Linked DNA regions of Homo sapiens: regions 1, 2 and 4 are each linked to region 3. The links are contacts of gene promoters, found by promoter capture Hi-C in blood cells and fetal thymus (Javierre and others, 2016). All regions are on one chromosome and are shown on one strand. The core of a region is centred on a gene start or on the middle of the fragment in contact, and the rest is flanking DNA. Distances in the headings are between cores, read along the strand shown. Region 1 holds the start of OR5T2 (olfactory receptor family 5 subfamily T member 2). Region 2 has its middle 46 kb from the start of OR4A5. Region 3 holds the start of OR4C15 (olfactory receptor family 4 subfamily C member 15). Region 4 holds the start of OR8K5 (olfactory receptor family 8 subfamily K member 5).

Region 1 (4,034 bases), core at 659-3,158, 680 kb before region 3:
TCAGGATTGTATAGTAATCCTGTTTTTAATGTTTCAAGGAACTTCCATACTATTTTCAATCATGGCTGCACTGTTTTATATTCTTGTCAACAGTACACCAGGGTTCCAATTTCTCCACATTCTTATCAATACTTTTTTTTTTTAAATAATGGCCATAACAGGTGTGTGATGATATCTCATTGTGGTTTTGATCTGCAATAATTAAAATCTCCATATTACCCAAAGGGGTCTTCAGATTTAATGCATTTCCTGCAAAATCCTAGTGCTGGGTTTTACAGAAATAGAAAAAACATCGTAAAAATTATGTGCAATTACAAAAGACTTCAAATAGCCAAAGGAATCTTGAGAAAGAAAAACAAAGCTAGAGGTATTATACTTTTTTATTTCAATGATATTACAAAACTACAGTAATTAAATAGCATGGGACTGGAATAAGGACAGATATATAGACCAACGGAACAGAATAGGGAGCCTGGAAACAATCCCACATGTATATAGTCAAATGATCTTTCACAAGTGTGCCAAGAATACACAATGGGAAATTAAATTGGACCCTTGTCTTATACCATATAAAATAACCAACCCAAAATGGATTAAAAATTTAAACATAAAACCTGAAACTACAATTTCTAGAAGAAAACATAAGGAAAAACTTTAGGACCTTCAGCTTGGCAGTAACTTGTTGGATGTAACATAAAAATACAAGCAATGACATAAAAAGCCAAGTAACAAAACCAAAATTAGACAAGTAGGGCTACGTCAAAGTCAAAATCTTCTGCACAATGAAGAAAACCATCAGCCAAACAAAAAATATTTGTAAATGATATATCTAATAGGGGATTAATATCAAAATATATAAATTCAATAGCCACAATAACAATAATCTTATTTTAAAACTGGCAAAGGACTTGAATACATTTTTTTTCCAAAGAAGACATACAAATGGCCTTCAGATGTATGAAAAGATGTTCAACATCAGTAGTCATCAGGGAAATTCAAATCTGACACATTTTAAACAGAAGCCAAAGAACTCTATTGATTCAATAAGTAGGAGCATGCAGTGCCTTATTCCGGAATCATTTACTTTTTATTATTAAGTAAATCATCATGGTGCTATTTTGAAACAGAAGATAATTGGGGCATATTCCCCTTGGGACATCTCCTTGGATTTCATCAACAGTCAATTACAAAGATATAAACAATCTAAGTTAGCCATATTCATAGAATACCTAAATCTGCATTTGCTGTTCCACAGGTAAGAGAAAATTTCAGATAATTTGAAGAATATTTCGGCAGCTAGAACCTACAATATCAAGAATAACTATGTTTTTTTTTACTAAACTTTTTAGCTGCTAAACACCAAGAACTAAACACTTCAGTTCTGGACTATTACATATGTGAATCAAGTGTATTCATCAAAATATGATTTATTTAGAGTTATGCCTAAGAATTAAAATCCAACACTTACTAGAAAACAATAAAAAATAGAAAATATTGTATTTGTACTTATAGAGATAAATAAGAGTGCTCCTAATAGAGTATATGCTTGTATTTTTCTTATAGATAAAGATAGTTCAAAGGTCATGAATTTACCAATAAATATCAACAAAGGGCAAAAAAACATTTGACTTATTCATTTATCTGGGGTCTTGTATTTTGAAGTAATAAGGAAAACAATCAATACTTATTTTAAATTTATTTTCTGGCTTTATAATCTAGAAGTCACTTCAGATTGCTACTTATTTTATGTTTCTCTAGATTTAATGGCTTAAAAAATACAAATACATCGAGAATCATGTTTTGCTTTACCTTTATTTCCCTGAGGTCAGCAGAGGGGTAAGAGGAAGAGTGTTCCAGTTGCAGAATGAAGCCATTTATGAGGCCATGAAAAAATGCAAAAATTTCATGTACAATGAGAGAAACCTGGGATTGAATCTTGGCTCTGGAAATTGTTAGCTATGAAAGTTGCTATAAAGGTGAAATAAGGTAATGTACAAGAAATGTCTGTTCTTGCAGCAAGTGCTAAATAAATGCCTGTTATTTAGCAAACTTAGTGTTTCGTTATTACATTCACGATATTTAAAGTTTTCTCCCTTCCATTAAAATTTGTTTCATAAAAATAGATTTGCATTAATTTAAAAAGTTGATTCTATATTATTAAATCTTCAAGAATCATAGTGATTTTCTCTTTATAACTCTGAATCTTTGACTATGTGCTAATATTAACTTAATTTTTACCCAATATAACTTATTTTGGCATCTAGTAGAAATGCCTGTCTCACAAGAAATTTGGTTGAAGTATCTTATTTGCACAAAGCAAAATTAAGACAATTGTAATGTAGAAAATGGAATCATGGTAATTTGCATGTTTATTTTTGGCATAAAATGATCAAGTAATTCACAAAACTTCTTCATTCTCCAAAGAATAATTCAGAGACATTTGAATGAGCAGATGAAAAAAATCATAACTGTTCATTGGATTTAATCTTGATAGAATGTAGAACCAACTTAATTCAGCATATTCTATAATCAAAATTATTTTACATATTATATTTTATTAATGCAATTTTCCTTCAATATTTACTCCAATCTTGTGAACAAACTATTAATGTTCTCATTCTATAGACAAGTAGATATAGCAAATCATTTTGCACAATTGCTACAAGTTCTAAAATTCTGGTATTGTATTCCAATGCTCTGTCCCCTGATACAGTCTCTTGTGTATTTGGATGCCCAAAGATTGTTTAAGCCACTCATTTTTGTGTGTTTTAATATTATTTAATATATAAACAGCTTAATACAATTCAGTGGTAAATTAACCAGTAGACCTGATGATTTTAGAAACAGAATAAGTCCAGCCAACTAATGAACGTCCATTTCTTCCATTTGATTCTGCAGTGAGTGGCATGAACACATGGCTGACCAGTTTGTCACTGTCTTCTGATTCACTACTAGAGAATTATGCACTGCTGAATATATGTCGTACAGTATATACAAGAGCACAGTTAACATCCCCTTGAGTCATGGTGTTGTTCATTCTTTTTGTCATAATATGAACTGTAACTTTATGCATATCTTCAAGTTTGTTCTAGATTTCAACATGAAGAATGTCACTGAAGTTACCTTATTTGTACTGAAGGGCTTCACAGACAATCTTGAACTGCAGACTATCTTCTTCTTCCTGTTTCTAGCAATCTACCTCTTCACTCTCATGGGAAATTTAGGACTGATTTTAGTGGTCATTAGGGATTCCCAGCTCCACAAACCCATGTACTATTTTCTGAGTATGTTGTCTTCTGTGGATGCCTGCTATTCCTCAGTTATTACCCCAAATATGTTAGTAGATTTTACGACAAAGAATAAAGTCATTTCATTCCTTGGATGTGTAGCACAGGTGTTTCTTGCTTGTAGTTTTGGAACCACAGAATGCTTTCTCTTGGCTGCAATGGCTTATGATCGCTATGTAGCCATCTACAACCCTCTCCTGTATTCAGTGAGCATGTCACCCAGAGTCTACATGCCACTCATCAATGCTTCCTATGTTGCTGGCATTTTACATGCTACTATACATACAGTGGCTACATTTAGCCTATCCTTCTGTGGAGCCAATGAAATTAGGCGTGTCTTTTGTGATATCCCTCCTCTCCTTGCTATTTCTTATTCTGACACTCACACAAACCAGCTTCTACTCTTCTACTTTGTGGGCTCTATCGAGCTGGTCACTATCCTGATTGTTCTGATCTCCTATGGTTTGATTCTGTTGGCCATTCTGAAGATGTATTCTGCTGAAGGGAGGAGAAAAGTCTTCTCCACATGTGGAGCTCACCTAACTGGAGTGTCAATTTATTATGGGACAATCCTCTTCATGTATGTGAGACCAAGTTCCAGCTATGCTTCGGACCATGACATGATAGTGTCAATATTTTACACCATTGTGATTCCCTTGCTGAATCCCGTCATCTACAGTTTGAGGAACAAAGATGTAAAAGACTCAATGAAAAAAATGTTTGGGAAAAATCAGGTTATCAATAAAG
Region 2 (3,504 bases), core at 116-2,615, 800 kb after region 3:
CTGTTTCCAAATTGCTGAATCAAAACCAAGTTTAACCCTGTGACATAAATGCACACATCACAAAGCAGTTTCTCAGAAACTTCTTTCAAGTTTTTATCTGAAGGTATTTTCTTTTTCACCATAGGCCTCACTGTGCTCCAAATGTCCTTTTCAGATTCTACAGCAAAGTTTTTCCAAACTTCTGAATCAAAAGAAAGGTTTACCTCTGTGAGATGAATGCACATATCACAAAGCAGTTTCTCAGAAAGCTTCTTTCTAATTTTTCTCAGAAAATATTTTCTTTTTCACCATAGGCTTCAATGCTCTCAAAGATGTCCAATTGAAGAATGTACAAAACACCATTTCCAAACTGCAGAATCAAAAGGAAGGTTTAACTCTGTGAGATGAATGCACATATCAGAAATTGGTTTCTCAGAAAGCTCCTTTCTAGTTTTTATCTGAGGATATATGTTTTTTGACAATAGTCTTCAATGTGCTCCCAAATATCCCTTCACATATTCCACAAAAACAGTGTTTCCAACCTGCTGAATAAACAGAAAGTTTTATCTGTGTGAGTTTAATGCACACGTCACAAAGCAGTTCCTCAGAAAGCTTCTTTCTAGTTTTTATCTGAAGACATTTTCTTTTTCACCACAGGCCTCAATGAGCTCCCAAATATTCCTTTGCAGTTTCTAAAAAACAGTGTTTCCAAATGACTGAATGAAAAGAAAAGTTTGTCTCTATGAGATGAATGGACATATCACAAAGCCTTGTCTCAGATAGCTTCCTTCAACTTTTTATCCTGAGATATTCACTTTTTCATCATTGGCCTCTAAGAGCTCCCAAATATCCATTCCCAAAATGGACAAAAACAGTGCTTCCAAACTGCTGAATCAAAAGAAAGTTTTAACTCTGTGAGATGAATGCACACATCAAAAAGCATTTTCTCTGAAAGCTTCTTTCAAGCTTTTTTCTGAAGATATTTTCATTTTTACCATAGGTCTCAATGTGCTCCCAAACATACCTTTGCAGATTGTAGAAAAACAGTTCATTCCAAATTGCTGAGTCAAAAGAAAGTTTAACTGTGTGATTTGAATGCACACTTCACAAAGCAGTTACTCAGAAAGCCTCTTTCTTCTTTTAAAAGAAGGTATTTTTTTGCACCATGGGCCTCAAGGGGCTACCAAGTGTCCATTCACACAAAGTACAAAAACTGTGTTTCCAAACTGCTTAATCAAAAGAAAGGTTTAAATCTGCAAGATGAAGTCACACATCACAAATGGTTTCTCAGATAGTTTCCTTCTAGTTTATATCTCGGGATATTTGCTTTTTTGCCTTTGGCCTCAATGAGCTCCCAAATATCCATTCACAGAATGGACAAAAACAGTGGTTCTTAAACTGCTGAATGAAAAGAAAGGCTTAATTCTGTGAGATGAATGCACACAACACAAACAGTTTTTCAGAGAGCTTCTTTCTAGTTATTATCAGAGGACATTTTCTTTTTCACAACAGGCCACAATGCATTCCCAAATATCCCTTCGCAGATTCTACAAAAACAATGTTTCCAAACAGCTGAATGAAAAGAGAAGTTTAACTTTGTGAGATGAATGCAGATATCACAAAGCAGTTTCTCAGATAGCTTTATTTCGTTTTCATCTTGGCATATTCACTTTTTTGCCATTGGCCTCCATCAGCTCCCAAATGTCCACTCACAGAATGGACAAAAACAGTGTTTTCAAACTGCTGAACCAAAAGAAATGTTTAACTCTGTGAGATGAATACAAACGTCACAGAACAGTTTCTCAGAAAGCTTCTTTCTAGTTTTTATCTGAATATCCCTTCTCAGATTCAACAAAAGCAGTGTTTCCAACCTGCTGATTCAAAAGAAAAGTTTAACTGTACGTGATGAATGCACAGATCACAAAGCAGATTCACAGACAGCTTCCTGCCAGTTTTTTTCCTGACATATGTGCTTTTTTGCCATTGGCCTCAATGAGCTCTGAAAAGTACATTTGCAGAATGGACAAAAACAGTGTTTCGAAATTGCTAAATCAATAAAAGGTTTAACTTTGTGAGATTAATGCACCCATCACAAAGCAGTTTCTCAGAAAGCTTCTTTCTATGTTTTATCTGAAGATATTTTCTTTTTTACCATATGCCTCGACGTGCTCTCAAATATCCCTTCACAGGTTCTACAAAAACAGTGTTTCCAAACTGCTGAATGAAAAGAATGATTTAACTCTGACAGGTGAATGCATACATCTCAAAGGAGTTTCTCAGATAGTTTCATTCTAGTTTTTATCTGAAGATATTTTCCTTTTACACGATAGGCCTCCAGCACTCCAAAGTGTTCGTTGGTAGAATGGAGAAAAACAGTGTTTCCAAACTGCTGAATCAAAGGAAGGTTTAACTGTGAGATGAATGTACACATCACAAAGCCGTTTTTCTAGTATTTACATGAAGATATTTTCTTTTTCACCAAAGGCCTCAATGCCCTCCCAAATATTGCTTTGCAGATTGCACAAAAACAGTGTTTCCAAACTGCTGAATGAAAACAAAGGTTTACCTGTGTGAGCTGAACGCACACAGCACAAAACAGTTTATCAGAAAGCTGATTCCTCCTTTTAATCTGAAGATTTTTTTTCACCATATGCCTCAATACGCACCCAAAAGTCCATTTGTAGATCCTACAGAAACAGCGGTTCCCAATTGCTGAATCAAAAGAAAGTTTTAACTCTGTGAGATTAATGCACACATCATAAAGTGGTTTCTCAGATAGCTTCCTCCTAGTTTATACCTCGGGATATTCACTTTTTTGCCATTGGTCTCAATGAGCTCCCAAATACCCATTCACAGAATGGACAAAAACAGTGTTTCCAAACTGCTGAATCAAAGGAAAAGTTTAGCACTCTGAGATGAATGCACACATAACAAAGCAGATTATCAGAAAGCTTCATTCTTGTTTTCATTGGAAGATATTTCCTTTTTCACCACAGGCATCAATATGCTCCCAAATGTACATTTGAAGATTCTACACAAACATTGTTTCCCACCTGCTGAATCAAAAGAATGGTTTAACTTTGTGAGATGAACGCAAACATCACAAAGCTGTTTCACAGATAGATTCATTCTACTTAATACAGGGATATTCCCTTTTACACCGTTGACCTCAATGAGTTCTCAAATATCCCTTCAGAGAATCTTCAAAAACAGTGTTTCCAAACTGCAGAAAGAAAAGAAAGTTTTAACTCTGTGAGAAGAATGCACACATCCAAAAGTAGTTTATCAGATACCTTCCTTCTAGTTTTTAATCCTGGGATAATTGCATTTCTGACATTGGCCTCAAACAGCTCCCAATGTCCATTCTCAGAATGGACAAAAACAGTGTTTCCAAACTGTTGAATCAAAAGAAAGATTTACCTTGTGAGATCAATGCACACATCACAAAGCAGTTTCTCAAAAAGCTTCTTTCTTGTTTTTATCTGAAGATATTTTCCTTTTTACCCTAGGCCTCAATGTGGTCCA
Region 3 (3,835 bases), core at 914-3,413:
GAGTTCAAAATGGGGAGTTATATGCATGATGAGAGTTTGTGTGATGACATTTGCATGTTCTGAAGTTGTTGGGAACACTTCTACCAACCCGAAGAAAGTACAGACAAAGACTAGAAGATAGTAGAACCATTTATTGGGCAGTATGTGAGTGAAGTCTACTTGCCAATCTTGCCTGGATACCAGGCCCCAGGCTTGGTGGGTAGGAAAAGGCTGTGGCTGGAGGGAACCTTGGGGTGATACTGAGTAGCAGACAGAGCAGGACTGGGTAATCTACAAACCAAGTAAAGGAGGCATCTGGAAGGTGTTGGTCTGTTATGTTTGGAAAAATGTAAGAGCAGCATTCACACCGAATTGTATAGGGTCTTGGGTGGTTGTAGCTTCAGGTAAGAGCATGGCTGGGTTTAGATGGGAGCTGGTTAGCATGGTAATGTGGGGAGTTTCTATGAATAGAGCATACAGTTGGAAGAGCTGTGGGGCAGAGATGAGACTTAGTACACAGCAGTGAGCTAACATGTCTTTGATGTTTCAGGTTGAATCGACTGTTAGGTTGGCATGGAGAGATCATTTTAGGCTTTCAAGAGTGAGGACAGCAGCTGCTGCCAAGCTCAGAGACAAGCAAGCCATCCATGAACTGCAGCTTTAAGCTGATTAGAGAGGTAGGCAACAACCTGGAAGATGGGTCCCTTAGACTGGGTTAGAACACCTACTGCAACTCCATGCTGGTTAGCGGTATAGAGGGAGAAAGGTTTGGTGAGGTCTGGGAGAGTGAGAATGGGGGCTGATGTGAGAGCCTTCTGGAGGATGGAAATGTTGGGTAATAGGCTGTGTGGGGTTTAAAGGCTCATGGAGAGGGCCTTTAGCCGCCTGGTATAACGGTTTGGCAAGTAGAGTGAAGGAGGGAACCCAGAGCCTAAAATAAACCACTAGTCCTAGAAAAGAGAGAATGTCTTGCTTAGTTTGCAGAGGTGGAAGGGAGTGGAGGTGCAATATGCAGTTGGTTGTGAGCCCTTGGAGTCACGGGGTAAGACTAGGCCTATATAGGTGACTGAGGAGGTGCATATTTGTGCTTTCTGAGGGTGGACACATAAGTTTTCTGATCCCACATTAATGATTTTTTTCTAGCATTACTTTATCTCTTGCCATGAAAGATGTATCTCATTAAGTTTTTATTTAAGGCCATTTTGACCTTTTTTACTCTTAACTTTGGATTTTTTAAAGTTTAATATTTTCTTTCTCATCAGAAACCACCATCAGTCTGTTCCATATTCTCCTCATGGCCTGTTTTACTTCCTTATTCCTGAAAGTGTAAATCAAAGGATTGAGCAAGGGATTTAAGATGATATAAAATATTGCCGCCATTTTGTCAAGGGAAAAAGCAGATGGAGGTCGTGTATATACAAATATGCATGGGACAAAGAACAAAATCACAACAGCAATGTGAGATCCACAGGTGGAGAGAGCTTTCCAGCGCCCTTCAGAACTGTGTGTTCTCAGAGAGAGCAAGATGACAGCATAGGAGACAAGCAACAAGGAGAAGTTTATGATGCAGATAAACCCACTGTTGATGACCACCATGAGGCCAAAGATGTGAGTATCAGTGCAGGCAAGCTCCAGTAACGGGTACAAGTCACACATAAAGTGATTGATGACATTGGGGCCACAAAAGGGAAGCTGGAAAGTAAAAAGAATTTGTATCATGGAATGCAAGAGGCCCCCTGTCCAGGCTACCCCCATCAGAATGCCACAGAGCCTCCTGTTCATGATAGAAGAGTAATGCAAGGGCTTGCAAATGGCCACATAACGATCATAGGCCATGGCTGTGAGGACAATCACCTCCACCCCAGCAAAGAAGTGTTCAGCAAAGAGCTGCATCATGCAGCCTTCAAAAGAGATGGTTTTTGTCACATAGAGGGAGTCTACAATCATCTTTGGGGTGATGACAGATGAGAAGCACGCATCCAGGAAGGACAGGAAGCCCAAGAAGAAGTACATAGGAGACACCAGAAGAGCAGGGCTGCTGAGAATGGTTACTACAATTAGCATGTTGCCCCCAACAGTTGCAATGTAGACAAACAAAAATACAACAAATACTATTTCCTGAACATTTGGATTCTGTGAAAGTCCCAGGAGGACAAACTCAGTTACAAAGCTTTGGTTTTGCATGTTTCCCAAGGAAAAGATGAAAGCTCCAACAGGGATCATGTATAGTCTGCAATTAGGACAAAGGAAAATTTGCTTCAGATCAATTTGTGGTATCATAGTCATTAACAAGTTGGTACATCCAAGTGCAAAATTATTGAGTGCTTCTGTTGTCATTGAGAACATAAATTAGAAATTATTGAAGGTAGTACTGAAATATCAGACAGAATTGTGATAGAGATAATTTAAAGAATACTTGAAAGAAACAAGAGGTTCAATATGGGGGAAGGATATGTGGTAGAGAAGAGAAAGAGTTTTCATATCAAGTGCCAGCTTTGATCATTTACTAGTGGCTTCCTGGAGTGAATTATTGAGAAGTATTCTGAAGTTACCTCTAAATTTTGAGAGAAGGAGCATTGTAACTTATTACTTATTTCTGCCATTGGCATCAAATGAGAGCAGGGATGACCAGCATCCCATTCCTAATCGGGAGACTGCTTTATCTGCAACTAGAAGAAAACAGCGTATAGTTCAAGAGGCACTTAAAAATTATGGCTGCTCTTCAAATATTTCTTTAAAAGTCTTAACTGAATTCATTCTTTACAAAAGAGAAAGATCTTTAGAAAAATCTCTAGCCTGACATTTAAAACATAAAAAGTATGCATTAAGTGCGGAGTGTTTTCTTAAATCTGTCATTTTAAAATGAAAACAGAAGTTTATTATTATTATAAAAGTAATAATGCCTACAACAGAATGTTGTTATGATAACTGGTGAAACAATGGAAGGCTAAGGACCGACTGCCCTAGGGAATGGTCTGCATTAGGTCTTATTATTCCTATTTGATTGGTGGGAAACTCATGCTTAAAGAAGTTAAGTTTAAGCAAATAACAGACAATCTGGGATATTAACACAAAATCTCAGGCTCCAACACCCAATTCCTTTCCACTAGATCAGCAGGGAAAGGAGTGGGGATATTCCTTTTCCAGTAAGAACTTCAAAGTAGGAATGGCCTTTCTACAAACACTTGCATGTACAAATTGGCATCAACCACATAAGTAAGGAAGAGAAACAATATATTGAATATAAACCGGAATCTTGAGGCTTTATTAATTATTTTCCAATTATTTATATAAAGTAATCAGGTCTAATGAAGTTTAATTCCTAAAAGAAGTGTATATTTCAACTTTATATGCATTATTGTGTAGCAGAGGTGTTTATATATAGCTTACCTGCTCATGTCTCAGGATTATGATGATGGTCAGATTTGAAAATGTGAAAATTTTACTTATAATAAAGTGCTCTTACCAATTGTATTTACTCACTTAAAAAGTCAGCCACCTTATCTACAAAAAGCTTTTTCATGAGTCATCTAGATAATTACTCTCCAACTTTTGACTTCATTTCCACAGGCAGACACAGCTTTAAAGGATAATTCTGTCTTCACCTATATATATATAATTGAAATGTGTTTTTCAATTACCATATATAAGTGTGTGTTTGAATATTTGTATATGTGTATATTTATATGTGTATACACCTTTGTTAAAAAATAAGTGAATAAAAAAGAATAAAGAGATTTATTTTGAGATTTAAATAAGCTGATTTTTATGAATGTCACTTGGAGTTAACAGAAACAATTTAAAATGTTAATAAAACTAACAAATATACAATTGTGTATGTTAATATATGTTCTTT
Region 4 (3,938 bases), core at 809-3,308, 610 kb before region 3:
AGGGTATTTAAAATGTATGCATAATTATTCAAATACGTTAGAAATATACTTTTTTCCATAAGAAAAACAGGTAGGATACAAAATTGAGAAATCTTCAGAGGGAGATAATAATTGACAGTGACAATGGAAATAGACTGAATAAAAACTAAAACCATTTTAAGCAAAGTATTGACTTCAGATTGGTGGGATTGATGTTGGAATTCTGAATTTCCTTTGCAATTCAGTGCATCTTCTATTCTACCATAAAACCCTATGTGAGCAATTCCTGCAATACTGCAAATTTAAGATAAAGTTTTAGAAATAGAATAGTCATGGTTCTTATCTGTGGGAAAAGAAAGACCTAAAAGAGGGGTGAAGTTCAATGGAGAAACAGCAGACAGCTTCATTTAGGGAGAAGGAATGGAAGAGGGTCACTAACCTCCACTGTTGCCCCCTTCCCACATCTGTAGTCCATAGATGAAGTTGGCAAAATGTCTCCCACTAATGAGCAGATACCTAGAAGTGTTGCCAAATGCCACAGTGTGGCTGTGGACTGCACCTGCTCCAAACTGTAGTTTTGGATCTTTAGGTGGGTTTTCAGAGTTTTCTACCTGAGGGATGTGCAGGCTAAAGCTGACATTCCATTACATTATAATAAATCTATTCTACATTAGATCTGTGGAAAATTCCGTTACTATTCCAATTGAAAGTCACTCTCACAGAGTTCCAGATTTTCAATGAGTGGAAACTGAAGGAGAGGGGAATTTAAGTGGAATAGGCTAAGACATCTTCACTATCTGTATCAGGGACGTTCCACTTTCTTTTATTGACTTCCCGTGTATTTTTTAAATAAAGGGAGAAGTACTTTTCATTGAAATAGTTTTAATTACAGTATTATATCTCCATGAATACTCCACTGTACAATTCCAGAAAAAAAGTCATTCACTAATATATGATGTCCTAAATTCTCAAATTATTTAAATGATTTATAGAACCTACCATCTTCACAGTGTTTTATTACAGAAAATAAAGTACATATAATTAAATAGTCATCACTGAATATTGATTTAAATCATGTTTTTGCAGAAGTGGATCCAGATTATGTGTCTTGAAGCTTAGAAGAATTTGACTTTTTAGATAAAATTACACATACAAGTTGAAAGATAAATGGGAATATTTATTTAGAATAGAAAATTAGCTTTAAATTGTAATTAGTAAACAAACCCATGGCCACAAACTATATAAAATTTATTAATATAGTATGTTAATTAATCAAATGCCAAATGCATCTCAGCATACAGGTGGCAAGAGTATCCTTAGAAGACATTCTTAAGTCAGAATAGGTAGTATTATTCAGTGATAAATATCATAGTGTCTGAATGATATAAACATATCCATTGAACATCAAATAAACTATTATTAACTCAATCCTTCTTTAGCTAGATCCCACAATGCTTGCAGAAATGTCAAGTCACTATGATATTAGTTGAAGTGTGATATACTAGAAGTTGGAATGAAAACAGAAAGCAGCCTTAATTGATCATGATTATTATATCTTACATTTGAAATTTTACAAAGATATATCATTTTTGCGTGCATTCGTAAGTCCCCACACAAGACCCTGGAAGTGCAAATGAGGGACCCCAAATCTTAACCTTCATTATCTTATTGCCATCTCTACCTCTGTCTTTGAGAATATCAAAATTACAGAAAAGTTTTACAACAAAAGTGGAAGTGAACAAAAGAAAATCATGATACCATTGTGCAGATGAAAAGAGCATAATCTTTTTGTAATAATACCTATATGGCTGTGTTATTAACCGATATACTTCAAATATTGATGAAACTATTTAATCTATGTTGTTTCAGTGCATGTATTTTACATGAATTCCTCTTTTAGGAAAGTAGAAAATTTTGCTTTATATTTCATTTCTGAATCAAATGTAGAAATAATGTTTCTATTATCTATTGTGAATAACAATCTATTCTGTCTACAAATATTATAATTTGTTTAAATAGCACTACATGGAACAGCTAATAACCCAACTGTTTCTTCCTAGAAGAGATAACTGGACTAAATGGGCCAACACAATCTAACAGTGCTAACTGAATTCATTCTGATGGAACTCACAAGGCGGCCTGAGCTGCAGATTCCCCTTTTTGGAGTCTTCCTCGTCATCTACCTAATCACAGTGGTGGGCAACCTAACTATGATCATTTTGACCAAACTGGACTCCCACTTACATACACCTATGTACTTTTCTATCAGACATTTGGCTTTTGTTGATCTTGGTAATTCTACTGTCATTTGTCCCAAGGTGCTGGCAAATTTTGTTGTGGATCGAAATACTATTTCCTATTATGCATGTGCTGCACAGCTGGCATTCTTCCTTATGTTCATTATCAGTGAATTTTTCATCCTGTCAGCCATGGCCTATGACCGCTATGTGGCCATTTGTAACCCTCTGCTCTATTATGTTATTATGTCTCAGCGACTGTGTCATGTACTGGTGGGCATTCAATATCTCTACAGCACATTTCAGGCTCTGATGTTCACTATTAAGATTTTTACATTGACCTTCTGTGGCTCTAATGTCATCAGTCATTTTTACTGTGATGATGTTCCTTTGCTACCTATGCTTTGCTCAAATGCACAGGAAATAGAATTGTTGAGCATACTATTTTCTGTATTTAATTTGATCTCCTCCTTTCTGATAGTCTTAGTGTCCTACATGTTGATTTTGTTAGCTATATGTCAAATGCATTCTGCAGAGGGCAGGAAAAAGGCTTTCTCCACATGTGGTTCCCATTTGACAGTGGTGGTTGTGTTCTATGGGTCTCTACTCTTCATGTACATGCAGCCCAATTCCACTCACTTCTTTGATACTGATAAAATGGCTTCTGTGTTTTACACTTTAGTAATCCCCATGCTTAACCCTTTGATTTACAGCTTAAGAAACGAAGAGGTGAAAAATGCCTTCTATAAGCTCTTTGAGAATTGATGTCAACTTTGTGTTTAATAATCAATTTGTAATATTGTTATAATAAATATATAATATAGATTAATGTCACTTGATAATTTTTCATGTGTATATAAATTTTCCAATTTTCAAATTTTTTTAATTGTTTTTTATTTCAATAATTTTTGGGAAGTAGGAGGTTTCTGGTTATGTGAATAAGTTCATTGGGGTAATTTCTGAGGTTTTGGTGCACTCATCACCTGAGCAGTGTACACTGTACTCAATGTGTAGCCTTTTATCCCTCGCCCACACTGCACACTTTTCCCTGTGTCCCCAAAATACATTATGTCATTCTTACCTATTTGTATCCTCATAGTTTAGCTCCCACTTATAAGTGAGAACATATGATATTTGGTTTTCCATTCCTGAGTTACTTCACTTAGAATAAAGGTCTCCAGCTCCATCCAGGTTGCTGTGAATGCCATTATTTTGTTCCTTTTTATAAGTGAGTAGTATTCCATCATATATATATATACATATATATATATATACACACACACACACATATATATAGATAAAGAAAACGTGATATCTATATATATCATTTGATATATATATGGTATATATAAAGAAAATGTGATATGTATATCATATTCTGGTTATATGAGTCCACTTTTTGTCATATATATATCACATTTTCTTTATATATATCAGATTTTCAATGAGTAATCAGATTTTCGGATTTCATGAGATATATATGTGTGTGTGTGTGTGTGTGTATATATATATATATAGATCTCACATTTTCTTTATCCACTAGTTGGTTGATGGACATTTAGGCTGGTTACATACTACTGCAATTGCTAATTTCCCTGCTCTAAACATGGATGTGCAAGTGTCTTTTTCACATAATGACTTCTTTTCCACTGGGTAGATACCCAGGAGTGGGATTGCTGGATCAAGTGAAAGTTCTACTTTTACTTATTTAAAAAATCTCCA

What was found. Contacts are between HindIII fragments. The CHiCAGO score rates a contact against its expected background, and 5 or more counts as called.
Region 1: the fragment with the promoter of OR5T2 here is called in contact with the fragment with the promoter of OR4C15 in region 3 in 8 of 17 cell types (activated CD4 T cells, neutrophils, M2 macrophages and 5 more); the score reaches 7.8 in activated CD4 T cells.
Region 2: a fragment that was not itself captured here is called in contact with the fragment with the promoter of OR4C15 in region 3 in 7 of 17 cell types (endothelial precursors, megakaryocytes, erythroblasts and 4 more); the score reaches 12.5 in endothelial precursors.
Region 4: the fragment with the promoter of OR8K5 here is called in contact with the fragment with the promoter of OR4C15 in region 3 in 12 of 17 cell types (total CD4 T cells, naive B cells, M2 macrophages and 9 more); the score reaches 9.6 in total CD4 T cells.

What each region holds. Positions count from the first base shown.
Region 1 is chr11:56,232,129-56,236,162 of GRCh38, reverse strand. It overlaps OR5T2 (olfactory receptor family 5 subfamily T member 2), which reads left to right and starts at 1,908. Exons shown (of 2, transcript NM_001004746.4): 1 at 1,908-1,986; 2 at 2,899-4,034. The coding sequence starts at 3,101. The HindIII fragment of the contact is 5,726 bases long and covers 1-4,034 here.
Region 2 is chr11:54,750,693-54,754,196 of GRCh38, reverse strand. No RefSeq gene overlaps it. Among named protein-coding and RNA genes, the nearest start is that of OR4A5, 46 kb to the right of the region's middle. The HindIII fragment of the contact is 844 bases long and covers 944-1,787 here.
Region 3 is chr11:55,552,797-55,556,631 of GRCh38, reverse strand. It overlaps OR4C15 (olfactory receptor family 4 subfamily C member 15), which reads right to left and starts at 2,163. Exons shown (of 1, transcript NM_001001920.3): 1 at 1,213-2,163. The coding sequence starts at 2,163. The coding sequence ends at 1,213. The HindIII fragment of the contact is 1,344 bases long and covers 2,152-3,495 here.
Region 4 is chr11:56,158,437-56,162,374 of GRCh38, reverse strand. It overlaps OR8K5 (olfactory receptor family 8 subfamily K member 5), which reads left to right and starts at 2,058. Exons shown (of 1, transcript NM_001004058.2): 1 at 2,058-2,981. The coding sequence starts at 2,058. The coding sequence ends at 2,981. The HindIII fragment of the contact is 6,274 bases long and covers 1,096-3,938 here.